Regions from separate parts of the Homo sapiens genome. Here regions 1 and 2 are each linked to region 3. Evidence: promoter capture Hi-C in human tissues and cell types (Jung and others, 2019). All regions are on one chromosome and are shown on one strand. The core of a region is centred on a gene start or on the middle of the fragment in contact, and the rest is flanking DNA. Distances in the headings are between cores, read along the strand shown.

Region 1 (2,700 bases), core at 84-2,583, 450 kb after region 3:
ATATGCTAATACAAGCCCTTTATTTGATGTACATATTTTATCTTCTTTCTTTCTGTACATTACCTTTTCACTCTATTAATGGTTTCTTTTGAGGAGCACAAGTTCTTAATATAGTTCAGCTTATTAAAATTTTCCATTCGTGTGCGTGTGTGTGTCCTATTTAAGAAAATTTTTCCAATTCTGATGTTATGATGATGTTACCCTATTTTGTTCTAAAATCTTCATTGTTGTTCCTTTCATATGTAGATCTGTAATTCATCTGGAATTTTTTTTGGGTGTGATAGTGTGAGCTATGAGCCAGCACCATGTACTAAAAAGAGTATTCTCATCTGGTGTCACCTTTGTTATAAATCAGGTAATCATATAGGTGTGGATCTGAGTCCATTGGTGTGTCCATACTTGCCTCGATCTCACATTCTAGTGATTGAAACTTTATAATAGGTCTTGATATCTGGTAGTTTAAAATCTTCCAGCTTTGATGTTATTCTTCAAGATTGCCTTATTTATTTATTTATTTTTTTGCATTTTCATGTAAGTTTTAGAATTAGTTTATCAGTTCACACACACACACACACACACACACACAAATCAGCTGAAATTTGAAAGGATTGTGCAGTTTTTTTCACATCAGTTTGGGGATAATTGATACTTTTACTGTGTAGCAGTAGTTTTAAATTCAGTCTTGACATCTTCACTTCTTTTTTTCCCTTCACTTTTTCTTTCACTTATCCTGTAAGCCTGGCTTAATTCATCTGATCCATTTTCTTTAATTATGTCCCCAGGCTTTTTAAGAAAATCAAATAACATTTTGATTGACTCTCTTGTTTAAGATCTTGATGCTGCTGTATTTATTTCTGAATTATTTCCTTCCCTTTTCCTACAGCAATCGTTCCAATCTTTATAGCACTTAAGCAACATAATGTCTTATTGCCAGTCCTAACCCTCTTTTTAGAAGACCTATGTGTAGAGATATCTGGAAAGCAATGGTAAATTTGGACCTAAACCTTGAGAAATGTTGATGCTAAAGACACAGATTTTGGAGTCATTAGATAACATGGTTCTTAAAGCTATAGATATGGATGAGCTTACTCAAATAGGAAGTCCATGAAGTAGGAAGAGAAGATGAGAGCTTAGAATATAATCCTGGGGGACAATCGTATTTAAAGGTTGGGCTGAGAAGAAGCTAGCATGTGACTAATAGGAGGACACATAAGTTAGCGGAGAACCAGGAAGGAGAGATGTACCGAAAACTAAAGGAAAAGAAAGCTTCGAGATGTAGTGAATGAGCCAGGCGTGGTGGCATGCACCTGTAGTCCCAGCTTCTTGGAGGCTGGAGTGGAAGATTGCTTGAGGCCAGGAATTTGAGGCTGCAGTGAGCTGTGATTGTGCTACTGCACACCGGCCTGGGTGACAGGGAATGGTCAACAGGATTAAATGATGCCTGGAGAACAAGAACATGCTAACAGAAAGCAGGCCAGTGGATTTGGCTAGTAGCATCAGCAAGGTCGGTAGGAGCTTGTAATGAGTGGATCGAGGTAGTGAGTAGACATTAATCTCTCAAGTACATTGATTGGAAGTGGTAAGGCAGAAGGTAGTGCAGCTGAAAGAGACGGTGAGACATTGTTCTCTGATGTTTGTCACTCAGAATCAACTTGGGCAAAGCCAAGTTCCTCATCCTGCTTTATCTGCCATTTGTCTGCTTTCTAATTTCAGTGAGTAGAGTCACCTTTTACCTGGTTGTAGAAGCTGGAAACCTTGTACTCTTCTGTGACTTCTCCCTTACCTCTCCTCCCATCCGTACTCCTACTCAACCCCCCATTTCAATGGTAACCAGAGACGTTTGATTTTTTCTCCGTAATGTGTTCATCATTCCCTCTGTTGACTTCTTCTGCAGCTTCTTAGGTTGGGATCTCCCGTTTTTCCTTGATAGTGCAATAGCCCTCTTACTGGTCCTTAAAGTCTTCTTGTCTCGCCTCATCCATTCTTCATACTGCCCCACCTATCTTTTTAAAACATGGTTCCCATCATGTCTTTCCACTTCTTAAAAATGTCAGTTGCCTTCCCACTGCCTGCTATATATAGTATACTAAATATTCATTAAATGAGTACTGGTTATGTGTCAGGCATTATACTAGGCACTAGAGGTACAATGATGAACAAGATAGACATGGGCCCTGCTGCCATCTAGTGTAATGGCATATAAGGCTTTTCATGGTTTGGGTACCAGCTTATCTTTCTAGGGTCATCTCCAACTTCTGCTTATATCCTCCAGACATTTTGGACTACTACTTTTCCCATGGACAAAATCTGTATTGTGAAATCACTGTGTCTTTCTGTGCTGTTTCCTACCCAGAATGCCTTTCTGCACTGTTTCCTACCCAGAATGCCTTTCTGCTGTCTGCTTGTCATTTTTTTTTATAGTAGACTATTTATAGTCAGATGGTGTTTGTTTTCTTCAAATTAGCCATTGGCTGTTAGTTAACTGCTAAATCATCTGTAAAAGCTTGATTTTTAAGAAATATTCTACAGCTAACAGTAATCTGCATACTGCTCCTGCTTCTTCCTGCTACACGAAAGAAGTTTTGGGGTGACTTCTTTGTAGAGAGAAATAGCTGTCTAGAATTTAATACTAGTAATTCTGTATGGTTTCTTTCTGGTCAATAAGAATGCATGGAATAGAGGCGAAAAGCAGAAATAAGC
Region 2 (2,700 bases), core at 188-2,687, 470 kb after region 3:
TTGTTTCAGAACTCTTTTTTGGGAAGGAGGGATTACTATTTAAGTCATTTTATGAGCACAGAAAAGGACTCTTACAGTATTCACTCTGAATGGGCAAAAGGACTGACCTAATATTATTCCCTAGACCTGAGAATGAGTGACTGTGTCTGATAACTAGATTTACTTTTATAGAAGGAGAACTGGCAAATGTGAAAGCTATTCAGATGATTGTCAGATGCCTTCTAAGCACAAGGCATTAAGCAAGGTGCTTTGGGAGTGTTAATTCACTCATGATCTTAGCCCTCAGAGAGGTCATAGTGTAATAGGGGAGGTAAGACATACCCCAAAATTCACATGTAGATAATTAAGGGAGACACAAACAGTGCTGGGGAAGTTGCGAAAACTCCAAGTTGTGGAAATATGGTGTTTTTTGCATTTTTCTAAATAGTTAAATTTTGTAGGCATGCATTCTGACATTTAAATTTTTAATTTCATTGTTTTCAAGTGGGTATAATAATGAACTCTAGACAAAATAAGCATTGCCTAGGAGAAACCCTAGAGAAATTTCTTTTAATTATTAGATAACAGAATTTAATAAATATTTGAGTGCCTCCTGGAGAAATCAGAGGTGATTAAGGCAAGATCCTCGCCCTTATCACCCTTAACAAACTTAATCTAATAGATATTTGAATTGCTTGCTTTTAGCATATTTTGTTTGTTTGTTTGTTTGTTTTTGAGATGGAGTCTTTCTCTGTCTCCCAAGCTGGAGTGCAGTGGCATGATCTCAGTTCACTGCAACCTTTGCCTTCTGGGTTCAAGCAATTCTCCTGCCTCAGCCTCCCAAGTAGCTAGGATTACAGGTGCCCACCACCACACCCGGCTATATTTTTTATATTAGTGGAGATGGAGTTTCACTGTGTTGGCCAGGCTGGTCTCGAACTCCTAACCTCAAGTGACCTTCCCTTCCTCAGCCTCCCAAAGTGCTGGGATTACAGGTGTGAGCCACCGTGCCTAGCCACTTTTAGCATATCAAATTTTGATGTTTGAAATAATTTTCTGAAGCTGTTTAAATGTTTACTCTGTAATTTGCACCGTTAATTAGCTTAGTAAATTTTCTTTATGGATAATATAAATGTAAATTTCAGCCAAATTCTAAATTAAGTTTCTTGAGTTTTGAAGTTTTATAGTTATTTTAAAAGACGATGGTATTCCCGATAACTTTGCATCTTAAAAATAGCAAGAAATACAATTCTAGGATGAGACAGGTGACGGTTTGTTTAAGGAGATACAGATTACATGTGGATTTTTTGGCTTATCATTAGCATTTTTTATTATGCTTCCTTGTAGATCTTTTTTTTTTCCTGTATTCTTTTTTTTTTTTTTTTTTTTTTGAGACCATGTCTCACTCTGCTGTGCAGGCTGGAGTGCGGTAGTGTGATCTCAGCTGACTGCAACCTCTGCCTCCCAAGTTTAAGTGATTCTTGTGCCTCAGCCTCTGGAGTAGCTGGGACTACAGGCGTGGGCCACCATGCCCAGCTAATTTTTGTATTTTTAGTAGAGTCGGGGTTTCACCATGTTGGCCAGCCTGGTCTCGAACTCCTGACCTCAGGTGATCCACCCACCTCGGCCTTCCAAAATGCTGGGATTACAGGCATGAGCCACCGCACCCGGCCTTTTTTTTCTGTATTTTTAAGTGTCTAATTCAACGCCCAGCATCTGCTAGTTGCTCAATAAATATATTTAAAAATGAATGTGACTTCATTATCTGCTGCTTTTGATTCTTGTCACCTCCCAAGTCTTTGAAAGCATGCCTGTACTCGATGTATTTACTCTCTTGCATTTCCTTCACTTGACTTTAAAAACTGCTTTCTTTAGATCAGAATCAAGCTTTGCGACTCTGTCTGGGTAGCACTAGTGTTGGAGGTCAGTATGGCGCTATCTCTGCCCTCAGTATCAACAATGATTGCTCAAGACTTCTTTGTGGCTTTGCTAAAGGACAGGTAAGATATGAACCTCCTTTAATTCATAAGACAATGTTAAAACAAGATGAATTTACAAAAACTTACATCTTAGATCAAAGACCAAAATACGTGTTATGAAGTAATATGTTTGTAGAGCTAACCAGAGATTGCTGAATCTGAGTTTTGTCTTGTTCAAAATTTTACATAATTGTTATCGACTGACCCAGAGTCTGTAATTTTTTATATCCTAGTTCATGTGTCTATTTGAGTAAATAATTTTTGTAAACCAACCAGGGATGTTATATAAAATGTACTTCCTTACAGTCGTGTAAATAATGGAGGCTGCTTTTTAGAAAGATTCTGTGTTCCTGGATAACGATTTTTGCATTTCTTTCTTCTTCTGAAACTGGCATTAGATTATGGTTTTTTTATCTTCTGATTCATACATCACTAGCTAGTTTGGCAGTAAGCCTTTCCGATACTTTTTACTAGTGCTAAACAGATTGACTTATTAGAGAAATATCTTTTGTCTCTCAGTATGAGAACAACATTTAAAATCTAAAGGGAGAAGTAGGATGGGCAGGATGAAGGGTAAATGAAGATCGAATAAAGGCTCTATGCTTTAATGGATCTGCAACCTTTAGGTATGTTTTAACTTTATAGTTCTTTGCCTGCAATGTTTATAGTCAAGGAATAGATTATTCCAGCCAGAAGGCAGGATACTTAAGTCCAAAAAAAGAGCAATAAATTTGTTTTTGAA
Region 3 (2,700 bases), core at 35-2,534:
AGTGAATCGGACATGGATTTGGTGCCACCTACCCCTGCTGAGAGCAGCAGGACATGATATGTATACACACATATCTTAATTAGCCTTAAATTCTGAGCAACCTTGGTTGTTAGGTCAGAGAAAATCTGGGATGGGGATAGAGAAGGAAAGTATTGTGGCTTCAGCCTGGAGAAGAGAGTGGAAAATGGGATGCAGGGCCTGGGTGAGGAACTGGCAAACGGGCGCAATATGTTGAGGGGTAACTTCTGCGGTGGGGAGTGGGGCTGGGGAGGGGAACTGCACAAAGCTGTAACTGGGACCACTAGAGGTCAGGATTAAAAGGCGGTATGGGAGAAATTAACCTCTATTCTTTCCCTATCTACCCCCACACATAAAGCCACTGGAGCTTTTCTCTGGACTCCAAGTCCTGAAATACTCCATTATCTGAGGCCAAGAGATGGGCTAACAGTTCTGGGACTTCCTTCCTGAGACCAGCTGCCCAGGAACGGGCACCTGCTGGGTGATGCCCACCTTAGGGGCTTACCTTGTCTTAGGCGCCCACTAACATATCTGTCTCATAGCTCACACCTGCCTCCCTGCCCCCTTGGCAGAACCCCTTCCGGTTCCTTCACAGGACCCCCCACATGGCTTCCTCCTCCTTTCACAAGTTGTGCAAAGAGGCTTGCACCTGATTCAATATTGGGATTTCCTGTAGGTCTGTCAACATGAGTGGGCCCTCCTCCCATTACCCTCTCCTTGCGCCCTGGCTTGCCTGGCCCAGCTTCCCCAGCACCAGATTCAGAACCTTAAGCTAACGAGGAATGACCAGCTAAGAATGGGGATTGGGGCTGTGTCCATCTTACTACTGTGTTTGCTAAGCCCTAAGTGCAGCTCCCTCTCTTATTTTCTCCCTGGGCTCATGTCCCCTTTCCTTAGGGCCAGCCAGGGCTGTGCTGTATTCCACCAAGTAAGTGATCAGTCCCTCAGAAACCAGCACCCCACCCCCTACCCCTGCTCTGCCCTGCTCCTCCCATTCTGGGAAGGCTACACTCTTCTCGACAAAGGTCAGTGCCTGTAGGTTCCAGTTTGCCTGCCCCTCCCCCAGCTGGGAGCCCATTTCTCTTTGCTGTCCTTTCTACCCTCACATAACCCCACACCCTGCTGGCCACTCACCGGGTGGAGAAGGGCTCCAGGACCCAAGTGCACAGCAGGCAGCCCTCTGGGGAGCAGATGGGTAGGAAGACATGTGGCGGTGGGGCACAGCCCCTCCACAGCAGCAGGTCATACGCCTGCCTGGGCCACTTCTGCCCAATCAGAGAAGGGAGCCACCAGACACTGGTGAAGGCCCCCGGAAGTGACGCCTTCTCTTCCCTGGAGCCCCTGCCTGGACCAGGGTCCACTCCTCCACCCACACACACCACGGAGAAGATTTGGATAGGGGGATCCATCTTTTCCTGGACATGGGCAACCTGGGACCTGGAGGGGGACAGGAGCAGAAGTTTTTTTCCAGGAGGAATCTGGCAGGACATTTGTGTTGCTGGGGAAGAAGCACAGAGGTCTTGTTTAAGATTGGTGGGGTTTTCACTCCCTGGCTATCCAAATTTCTTTTCCCTGGACATCATACCTGCTGCTGAAATCCAACAGGATGCTTGCTTTCCTGCTTTTCTTTCTGTAATCCCCTAGGGAGTCCTATCTTGTCATTCCCCCTTTCGAAGTGGGAACACGGATATTGCCCACATGAGAGAAATCTCCTGTTATGGGTTGGTGTTATGGGGAAAGGGTTTGGACGGGTTGAGTGGACTGTCAGGTGCGGGGCACATGTATGTGCGCACACGTGCACTGGGTTAAGCCTGAGCTTAGGTGCTCGTCTGCTGGGGTCCAGTGGCTTAGATGGCTACACACACAGACCTCTGTGCCCAGGGCCCTCCTTTGCTTGTTCTGTCTCCGTCTTCCATCTCCTACCGTTCCACATGTGACAAGAGGAATAACCAGGCCCATGTGTCCCTGTCTTAGGAAAGACAGCTGCTGGACCTCCCCCGCAAATACCTCCCTGCTGGCCCCCCTTTTCCTTTGGCCCTGGCTCTAGCTCCTTTGCTTTCTTCCCAGTCCCAGTCTCCCCACAGTCTCTGTCCTCAGGGGCTTCCTGGCCTGACCTTGATCCCATCATCCCCCTGTCCCCCAGAACTTCCTCAGGCTCTCTCCTGTTCCTCCTCCCCAAGGATGGGCATGTCTGCTGAGAAGTGTGGCCTAGATCCTGGAATTTTCCCGTCCAGCCAGACGAGATGTCTCCCAAGATTAGGAAGGAGGGTGCTGGGATAGCTGGGAGGATAGTGGGTGTGTGTGGGAGGGAGAGACAGGAGACAGGGAGGCAGGCATGACCAGGGAACCAAGAGAAAGGAGGCTGGGAGTGGGCTGGAGAGGCAGAGGGTCCCTTGGGTGAAGGAAGGGGGTGAGAAAGCAAGAGGGGACTGTCGAATGCGCCTGAGGATAAGTTACAATGAGAGGGAGATACTGTCACTCCACAGAAGGGGGAATGCTGCCGGTTTCTGGCTAGGTCCCTGTCCTGGGTAACACAAGAATGAGGAGCGACCTCAGAGAGAAGGTAGGGAGGCAGGCTAGGCAGTGAGAGAGGGTGGTGAGGGTTTGGGGGGCGCTGTGGGCCCAGGCAGGGGGAGATCGGCTGATGGACCTTTCCTGTACGTTGTCATCTTTAAAGACAAG

The links. The method cuts DNA at HindIII sites, captures the fragments that hold promoters and counts their contacts. A contact is called where the count stands out against the background at its distance.
Region 1: a contact is called between a fragment that was not itself captured here and the fragment with the promoter of THPO in region 3, in 4 of the 25 tissues and cell types used here (IMR-90 fibroblasts, aorta, bladder and 1 more).
Region 2: a contact is called between a fragment that was not itself captured here and the fragment with the promoter of THPO in region 3, in 1 of the 25 tissues and cell types used here (thymus).

Annotation. Positions count from the first base shown.
Region 1 is chr3:184,829,897-184,832,596 of GRCh38, forward strand. All of the region lies in intron 3 of VPS8 (VPS8 subunit of CORVET complex), which reads left to right. Among named protein-coding and RNA genes, the nearest start is that of VPS8, 19 kb to the left of the region's middle. The HindIII fragment of the contact is 4,523 bases long and covers 1-2,700 here.
Region 2 is chr3:184,847,217-184,849,916 of GRCh38, forward strand. VPS8 (VPS8 subunit of CORVET complex) reads left to right here. Exons shown (of 48, transcript NM_001009921.3): 9 at 1,855-1,979. Among named protein-coding and RNA genes, the nearest start is that of VPS8, 36 kb to the left of the region's middle. The HindIII fragment of the contact is 4,598 bases long and covers 1-2,700 here.
Region 3 is chr3:184,376,923-184,379,622 of GRCh38, forward strand. It overlaps THPO (thrombopoietin), which reads right to left and starts at 1,285. Exons shown (of 6, transcript NM_000460.4): 1 at 1,153-1,285. The HindIII fragment of the contact is 16,052 bases long and covers 1-2,700 here.